Linked DNA regions of Homo sapiens: all the other regions are linked to region 2. The links are contacts of gene promoters, found by promoter capture Hi-C in human tissues and cell types (Jung and others, 2019). All regions are on one chromosome and are shown on one strand. The core of a region is centred on a gene start or on the middle of the fragment in contact, and the rest is flanking DNA. Distances in the headings are between cores, read along the strand shown. Region 1 overlaps USP2 (ubiquitin specific peptidase 2). Region 2 holds the start of DPAGT1 (dolichyl-phosphate N-acetylglucosaminephosphotransferase 1). Region 3 overlaps CBL (Cbl proto-oncogene).

Region 1 (3,147 bases), core at 250-2,749, 250 kb after region 2:
TCACACAAGAGCAGTTGCAGGGGAAGCCCCTCCCCTAGGGAGAGGCCTGCTGGATCAAGAGCAAACAATGAGGGAAGAGAGCCAAGTTGCTAGGAGGCAAAGCTTGATGGACAAAAAAACGTGGGGACAGACCTGCGTGTGTTTGTGCTCTGTGTAACACTAGGACCTGTTGCCATGGGGATGAGAAAGCACCACAGATTAATTACTGAAGAGCTGGGAGCAAGGGTGGCGGACCTGAGTGGAGCCCCTGCCCTCAATGTCTCCTAGAGTCCATCTGTTCCCCAGTGGAAGACAGCAAAAATTACAGGGCTGCTTCTACCTCCAGTGAAGAACTAGTCAGAGTACAGCCATTCACTTTGCTACAAGCCTCATGTTTTTATTTTGAGGGGATCCTGTTTGCCTGCGGCTTGGGGGCAATCATCAGGGTAAGATTTCCAATCACAGCCTGGGTCAGGCCACCCTCAGGGCAGGCCAGGGAAGTTTGGGTCCCTCAGGGAGAAATTCCAAGTTTTAAGTCACTGTCATTTTCAATCCCTCTTCTTCACTCTTGGGAAATGCTTAGAAAAATGCCCCCACAACTGTCCCCCTCCATGAGGTGGGTTTGATAGCAGCACACAGGCCTTAAGTGACAGCAGGTGCTTCTGTCTCAGCAAGGATGGAATAGTCAGGCCTTTATTTTTCAGTGTCTGGAGCAGTGAAGGCAGTGAGGAAGAATCCTGATGAAACACTCCAGGCTCACCTGGTGGAGCCTTCAGCTTCCCTAGTTCTAAGACCAGCAGCAGAAATGGAAAAGCTGAACAGTGCTAATGAAGAGGTGACACCAAAGGAGACGTGGGTCACCGAGTGCACCAAAGGCATCACCTCTTTTAGGGGTTAAATCTGAAGTCTTGAGAAAAAGCACTTTAGGGAACAAAGCCTGTAACATAAAGGTAACTGTTTCTAAGTATTAGGTGGTAAAGCTGAGATCTTTGACTTATCAAAGACTAAGCCCTGGCTGGGCGTGGTGGCTCACGCCTGTAATCTCAGCACTTTGGGAGGCCGAGTCAGGCAGATCACCTGAGGTCAGGAGTTCGAGACCAGCCTGACCAACATGGAGACACCCCCGTCTCTACTAAAAATAGAAAAATAGCTGGTCGTGGTGGCGTATGCCTGTAATCCCAGCTACTGGGAGGCTGAGGCAGGAGAATCGCTTGAACCCAGGAGATGGAGGTTGCAGTGAGCTGAGATCATGCCATTGCGCTCCAGCCTGGGCAACAAGAGTGAAACTCTGTCTCAAAAAAAAAAAAAAAAAAAAAAAAAGACTAAGCCCTGGTCACTCCACATCCAGGTAATGATACTCTGCTCTAAGAGCAAGTTTTGCTATATTTGACATCTGCTGGAGAGATGTATTTTATCTTATCATAGGTCTGTGAAAACACCCAAGTGTTTCTTTTTTCATAGAGACAGGGTCTCACTATGTTGCCCAGGCTGGTCTCAAACTCCTGGCCTTAAGCCATCCTCTCACTTCAACTTCTTGAATTACTGGTGTGAGCCACCATGCCCAGCCCCAAGAGTTTCAACCAAGAATTAAGAGAGTAGCCCATACCAGCATTAAAAAGTAGACAGTTCATTAAAAAAAAAAATGGACATGTGAAAACCATGTCACATAGGAGAATGTCCTGATTCTTAGGAGATGTATGCTCAAGTATTTAGAAGTGGTGATATAACACCTCACCTGAAAATGTTTCGGCAGACAGAATAAAGTACAGTTGACCTTTGAACAATGCGGGCTTGAACTGTGTGGGTCCACTTTCACGTGGATTTTTTCAACCAAATAAGGATAGAAAATACTGCATTTGTAAGATGCAAAACCCACATATATAGAAGGCTGATTTTCATATACGCAGGTTCTGCAGGGGTGACCTTGGGACTTGAATATGGTGCAGATTTTGGTATGTGTGTATCTTGGAACCAATCTCCCTGTGTATACTGGGGGATGGCTGTATATTTAAATGTGTTTGTAAACAATTGGTGAATCCAGATGAAGAATATAGTGTCCAAAATATGTATTGTTTCAGTTTTTAAAAAATTAAACTTAAATGTTCAAACTAAAAAGTGGGTAACTTTTTCCAGAAACTTGGAATTTACAAACTGGTTGAAACAATGAAATAGATGGCCCCTAATATACTAGGAGCCCTTCCTAGATTCAAACACTCCCAAATCAAGATTCCAACATCTGCCAACTGATTTCTCAAAGCTATTATTTATTCTGTACAAGGTTCCACTGTACATTAGACATTCTTCTACTCTTGCTTACACAGTAAACAAGTGTACACTTGCCCTTGGGCTCAGGTTCACAGGTCTTCTCTGGAGAAGGGTGTCAGGCCAGTAAAACTCAGGGTGTCTTTCTCTGATGCCTCCTCCTAGGAGCCTGGAATGTGCCAGGCTCCACGGGGCACAAGCCGGGCCCAGCTGTGTGGGTGAACAGCTTTACTCTCCAGGACAGCACAGAGTTTTATCCAACTATGTAGGGCAAAATTGAGCCCACAGGAAAGAACCATACAACTGAGGCAAGATGTCCCCAAATACCCAGGCTCCAGCTCCCAGGGCAGGACTGGAGACCAGCGCTAAGAAGAGCTGAGGGGTGGCCTGGGCATCCCTGAGAAACTCGGTCCAAAGGGCCTATTGTCTAGGAGGCTCTGAGAAGGGGGCGGGGGCAGGAAGGCCAGGGGGAAAGGGATGTTAAGAGAATAAATAAAAGGGAGAGAAGCTCTAGGGACGAGGGGCTTGTGCTATCCTTCAAACAGCTGGGGAGCAGACCAGGGGTGGGCTAGAGGACGTGGGCGGGAAGAACTTGATGCCCTGTCGGAAGGAATCTACCTGCTTTCTTCTTTGCCTCACTGCAATGCACAACGAGCCAGGGCTAAGGGCAGGATCCCTTTCCCAGGCGGGTTTGAACAGAGCACTGGGGAAAAGGGAAGAGGCTGAGGGATATTTCAGGAGGGGCAGTTACCCCCTGGTCCCCAAATGCTATAAGGCACAATTCTTGGAGGCAACTAAATTCCATTCAAAACATTAAAAAAAAAAAAAAAAAACCCAAACCCCCAAAACAGAAACTTGTTTTAGATCCCAGGTCTACTGTGGCTGTGCTTGGGGCCTGGCCAACGC
Region 2 (2,700 bases), core at 1-2,500:
AGGGGCAGCAGTGGTAGGACTACCTACCCAAGTCCAGATGCAGGCCAAGTATCGGGCGGAAGGGCTTGGGCACCACAATGGTCGTGTTGCCAAAGTTGGTGAAATAGACCATGAGGAGAGGTAGTGAGGCAGCTGTAGGTAGCAGCAGCTTATGGCGCCAGCGCAGATTCAGTACATCATCCGCAAAGCCCAGGAAGATCATGCAGCAGATGGCAAGGAGGGCACCTATCAGGGCCACAAACTGGGGGAGGCTCGGGCAGGTCCATGACTCAAGCCTGCTCCCATTCCACCTTTTAAGAATTCCTGTCTTTTCTGATAATTTCTTAGCCCCTCCCCACAAGCCCAAATAACCCCAGTTCTCTCAGGTACCTCCCAGGTCCCAGCCACAGGCAATCACCCCCACGAACCCACTTACTTCATGGTGGGGGAATGCCTTACACTGCTCCTTCACAAAGCAGTTCAGGAAGGGGAAAGGGATGAAGCAGAAGAGGATGATAAGGAAAACAGCACCGCTGATCACTCCCTGGGATTCTGGGCTGTGGCCCAGCAGCAAGGGGGCGAGGGGGAAGAGGAAAGGGGGCGTGGTCACTCACTAGTGCAGGTGTTACAGTAACCCAAAGTGGTCTTCTCATTCCCGGTTTTTTATTCTGGTAAGTGGTGAGGGGGGCGGAGGGAGGAAAGCACCACTGCCAGAGTCCCAGATATACCCAAGGGTCCCTACCCATCCTTTCCCCAATGCGAGTAAGTTCTGCTCATCACCTCTCCGAGTTCCAGGCTGCCTGGGTTAGTTCTGAGTCTTCACGTGTGGTCAAGCACCCCGGTTCCCGCCCCTGCCCTAGCCACTCCTTCCTTAGCCCTTGCCCCCTGCCCGGACCCGTGTGCCGCTGCTCACATCTGCTGTCGGCTGGTTTTGTTGAGGTCCTGACCACAGAGGCGCGCAGCAATGAAGTGGCCCCGGAAGGCCGGGATGAGGGTGACTGTGGCCACAAATCCCAGCAGCGAGACGATCAAATTGATCAGCAGCGGCATGGGCAATTCCGAGAAGGCCCACATGGTGACCGGTCAGGGGCCCGGCTCCGCCGCCTCTTCAGGTAACGGGCAAGCTGAGCAGCAGTCCTGAGGCCTCAGCAGTATGGAGTGGCCGCTCCCCACAGGCAGGCTCTTCCCACACCAATCTGAGCAAAACCCAGCAACTCTGACTTGAGCCGCCGTCGGGACACCGGGGAACCTCTCTAAGGCAACCTATGTTCTGCCCCGCTGCACCCGCCTATCTACTGTTTCCGCCCGGATCTTGTTCGCTGAACAACCATTACTGCGGAAGGCGGCGGCCGCCATTTTTAATATGGGCATTAGAGGGTGGGGATGGAAGTGGAAGAGAAGTGTGATTCCAAATTTCATCCTATGTTCAAGAGTAGAATCACCGAGAGAGTACTGGAAACGCAATTAAAGAAAGGCAGCCAAGAACGGATACTTCCCTAACATTATGTTAAAGATGTACTACCCAGAGCGGAAATGCCAATTGCCCGGTTCCAAGATGAATGCCTCCTTGTACCACGTGTCTGACACCGCTCACATTCCGGTTCCACGTCAGTTTTAGCTCCGTCCGCCTCCATAGGTCAAGCTTAAAGGGCCCGTACCTCTCCCTTAATCTGGGATGCCTCCGGCTCCAGGAAGATGGCTATTGAAAGGCAGGGGGTGGGGAGGAGGGACGAGGGTGTGGAGACGCGCCTGTTTCTTGCAGGAAACCTGTTGCCAACATAGTCGGAAGCCAAGGTAAACACAACTCAGTTCCCGGAAACAAAGCTACGATTTGGAAGGATGGTGTAAATTCTAAAGCGTAGATCCTTGAAAAGCCCCTCCCACTCTGTTTTTCTTGTCCTCGATTCTGGTATTTTTTTCTCAGCATCCCACCCACCTTCTGCCCCAGCTGTAGCAGTTAGTTGCCCGGCAACCCAGCGCAGCACTTCACTGAGGGATTGGGAGTACCCTCAGGTCTTGGATTTAACTCGAGACTTCAGCTTGGCCGTGGATCACTGCATTGTACCTAGCTCCCACAAGGAGGAGATGGAGATTTCCAGGCTGAGGCTCTGGAAAGAGCTGAGGAGGGAGAGGAATCAGACCCACAACTGATTTCCTGTGAGTCTGAGGAACTCCCAGTCAGGTTTCTTCCTGTAGGTCACTGTGCATTTTGCTTGGCCTCCTGCAGGTTGCTGTGCATTTTGCTTGGCCTGTTCCCCTGCAAACAACAATTCACCAGCTTTTTTTTTTTTTTTTTTTTTTTTTTTTTGAGACAGAGTTTCGCTCTTGTTGCCCAGGCTGGAGTGCAATGGCGCGATCTCGGCTCACCGAAACCTCCACCTCCCAGGTTCAAGAGATTCTCCTGCCTCAGCCTCCCGAGTAGCTGGGATTACAGGCAGTAGCTGGAATTACAGGCATGCGCCACCACGCCCGGCTAATTTTGTATTTTTAGTAGAGACGGGATTTCCCTATGTTGGTCAGGCTGGTTTGGGACTCCCGACCTCAGGTGATCTGCCCGCCTTGGCCTCCCAAAATGCTGGGAGTACAGGCGTGAGCCACCACGCCCAGCCAGTTCACCAGCATCTTTATTACCTTTCATTCCCCGACAGGCTCTTAGGCGGCAAATGATTTCCATTTGTCAGAGAGGAAGTCACCACCAGTGAGTTAGGGAAAGGACTCCAA
Region 3 (2,915 bases), core at 371-2,870, 150 kb after region 2:
CACCCCCAAGAATCAGTGATAACTTTTGTAAAACTACGGTATTATAGAGAAGTAGGCTGTGAATGTCAAGTAGAAAGTGCAGAAGCTTTTTCCAATCACTTTACTCTAATATTGCCAACCAAGACTTGCTCTAAAACCATAATACTTGTGAAGTCTACAACTGCATTTAAATTAGGACATCTTAAAGAACAAGCCCCAAAACTGGCTACAAGAACGTCTTTCCTGCCAGGCTTTAGTATACAAAGCCAACAAATGCCTGCTAGAGATACCTAGTAGTGTGAAAATGTTAGCAGCATTGTAAACTTCAATCCTGGCAGCTTAGTTTTTTTTACTCTTATTTGTTGTGATTTGAATTTAATAATACATTTTCTTCAGAAAGCTTAAATCCTGTGTGTTAAATTTGTTACAGAAATGGAAAAAAAAAAAAACCTTTTGTTAACATTTTTCTTTTCTCTCTTTCCATAAACCCTCCCCCTACTCCATTTACATGCAGAACACTCATCCAGTCTAGTGTCTAATATATCTAGGTGGTTGAAATCCAAGTTAAGTATTTAGATTTAGTGTTTCTTAACTTGTTTCCTTATATTTATGGTATTTTTTTCAGGGTATTTACATTTAAAATAATCAGTTGAATATTTTCTTTCTAAAGTTGAACCAGATAATAGTGATTCCTTTCCTCCTGTTCTTTTACTTCATTGAGTATGATTAAAAAGCCACTTAGGGAAAGAAAATCTTCCATTGTGCTTTCTGTTAAATAGCAATCTAAGTGCTATTGACATCAACCATTGTGCAGGGCTTTTTAGGCCTATGTATGACTAAATATTAGATACTCTTAAAATCACTAGATTGAGGCCAGGTGCGGTGGCTCACGCCTATAATCCCAGCACTTTGGGAGGCCGAGGCGGGTGGATCACCTGAGGTCAGGAGTTCGAGACCAGCCTGGCCAACATGGTGAAACCCCATCTCTACCAAAAATACAAACAAACAAACAAACAAACAAAAAAACTTAGCTGGGCGTGGTGGTAGGCGCCTGTAATCTCAGCTACTTGGGAGGGCTGAGGGCAGGAGAATTGCTTCAACACAAGAGGCGGAGGTTGCAGTCAGCCGAGGTCATGCCATTACACTCTAGCCTGGGCAGTAAAAGTGAAACTCCATCTCAAGAAAAAAAAAAAAAAAAGATTAAAAAAAAATAAAATCACTAGGTTGAGGTTTTATAAATTATCTTCCTTGCAGATCCTAAATGATTAACATATTGTTGGTAGCATAGTTTCTTAGTCATTTTACCAGTTGGCACACTTACGTGTCAGTAGATACAAAGTGTTTAGCAGTGAGATGAAGGCAGTGTAGAATAAGGTTACATGCACATATCATGGAGCTGGAAACAAGTTGCTTTTAAAAACTCAGATTTCTCATTTCAAGTGTTCTCATAGTTTAATCATTTCAAAGTATAAACGTTATCAAAACATCACATTGTACCCCATGAATATAGACAATTATTTGTCATTTGAAAAAAAAATTTTTTTAAGTATTCTCATAAGATTGTTACAAAGTACTTAGAATAATGCCTGGTTCACAGAAAACAGGACATGGTATTTGATTAAAAGAAAATTAGAGCCATGCACCGTGGCATATGCCTGTAGTCCCAGCTATTCAGGAGGCTGAGATGGGAGGATCACTTGAGCCCAGGAGTTCGATCCAGCCTGCTCAATATAGCAAGACCTCATCTCAAAAAAAAAAAAAAAAAGTCATTGATGAAAAATTATGTAAAGGAGAAAGTGTTAATAAAAGTCACCCAGGCTGGACGATGTGGCTCACACCTGTAATCTCACCTACTCGGGAGGCTGAGGCAGGAGAATTGCTTGAACCTGGGAGGTGGAAGTTGCAGTGAACCAAGATCGTACCATTGCACTCCAGCCTGGGCAACAGGAGTTAAACTCTGTCTTAATAATAATAATAATAATAAAATTATCTGGGTGTGGTGGCGCATACCTGTGGTCTAAGCTGTTCTGGAGGCTGATTTGGGAAGATGCTTGAGTGTGGGAGGTTTAGGCTGCAGTGAGCTGTGATCATGCCACTGGAGTCTAGCCTGGGCAACACAGTGAGACCCCATCTAAAAACAAAAACAAAAACAAAAACAAAAATATCATCAGCCAGTCTTGTTGGCTCACGTTTGTAAGTAATCCCAGCACTTTTGGAGACTGAGGTGAGATCACTTGAGGCCAGGAGTTTGAGTACAACCTAGTCAACAGAGTGAGACCTTGACTCAAAAAAAAAAAAAAAAAAAAAAAGGACATACACTGATTGATGAAAAATTATAGAAAGGGGAAAGTGTTATCAAAAGTCAGCTGGTCTTGGTGCCTCACACCTGTAATTCTAGCACTTTTGGAGATCGAGGCAAGAGGATCACTTGAGGCCAGGAGTTTGAGACTAGCCTGTGTAATAGCAAGACCTCGTCTCTATAAAAAAGAAAAGTCATGTTCACTGAATTATACACTTAAAAATGCTTAAAATAGTAAATTTTGGTAAGTATATTTTACCACAATATTTAAAAAAGAAATGTCACAATTTAAAGTCCATTGAAATTTTCTTTTATGTAAGTGCAACCATGTATTGCTAACGACAGGATGCATTTTGAGAAATGTATTGCTGCCTGATTTAGTTGTTGTGTGAACGTCATAGAGTGTACTTACAGAAACCTAGATGATACAGCCGCCCACACACCTAGGCTATACGGTAGAGCTTATTGCTCATAGGCTACCAACCTGTACAGCATGTTACTGTACTGAGTACTGTAGACAGTTGTAACACAATGGTAAGTATGTATTTTAACATGTAAACATAGAAAAGGTGCAGTAAAAATGTGGTATTATAATCTTTTTTTATCTTTTTTTTTTTTGAGACAGAGTCTCGTCCTG

The links. The method cuts DNA at HindIII sites, captures the fragments that hold promoters and counts their contacts. A contact is called where the count stands out against the background at its distance.
Region 1: a fragment that was not itself captured here is called in contact with the fragment with the promoter of DPAGT1 in region 2 in 1 of the 25 tissues and cell types used here (dorsolateral prefrontal cortex).
Region 3: a contact is called between a fragment that was not itself captured here and the fragment with the promoter of DPAGT1 in region 2, in 2 of the 25 tissues and cell types used here (dorsolateral prefrontal cortex and mesenchymal stem cells).

What each region holds. Positions count from the first base shown.
Region 1 is chr11:119,352,992-119,356,138 of GRCh38, forward strand. It overlaps USP2 (ubiquitin specific peptidase 2), which reads right to left. Exons shown (of 13, transcript NM_004205.5): 13 at 2,224-3,147. Among named protein-coding and RNA genes, the nearest start is that of MFRP, 7.9 kb to the left of the region's middle. The HindIII fragment of the contact is 6,124 bases long and covers 1-3,147 here.
Region 2 is chr11:119,100,603-119,103,302 of GRCh38, forward strand. It overlaps DPAGT1 (dolichyl-phosphate N-acetylglucosaminephosphotransferase 1), which reads right to left and starts at 1,251. Exons shown (of 9, transcript NM_001382.4): 1 at 893-1,251; 2 at 416-536; 3 at 28-241. The coding sequence starts at 1,053. It also overlaps a transcript of C2CD2L not described here. RefSeq lists enhancers at 379-1,092, 904-2,103, 1,286-1,595, 1,807-2,519. The HindIII fragment of the contact is 6,056 bases long and covers 1-2,678 here.
Region 3 is chr11:119,251,724-119,254,638 of GRCh38, forward strand. All of the region lies in intron 2 of CBL (Cbl proto-oncogene), which reads left to right. Among named protein-coding and RNA genes, the nearest start is that of CBL, 47 kb to the left of the region's middle. The HindIII fragment of the contact is 5,103 bases long and covers 1-2,915 here.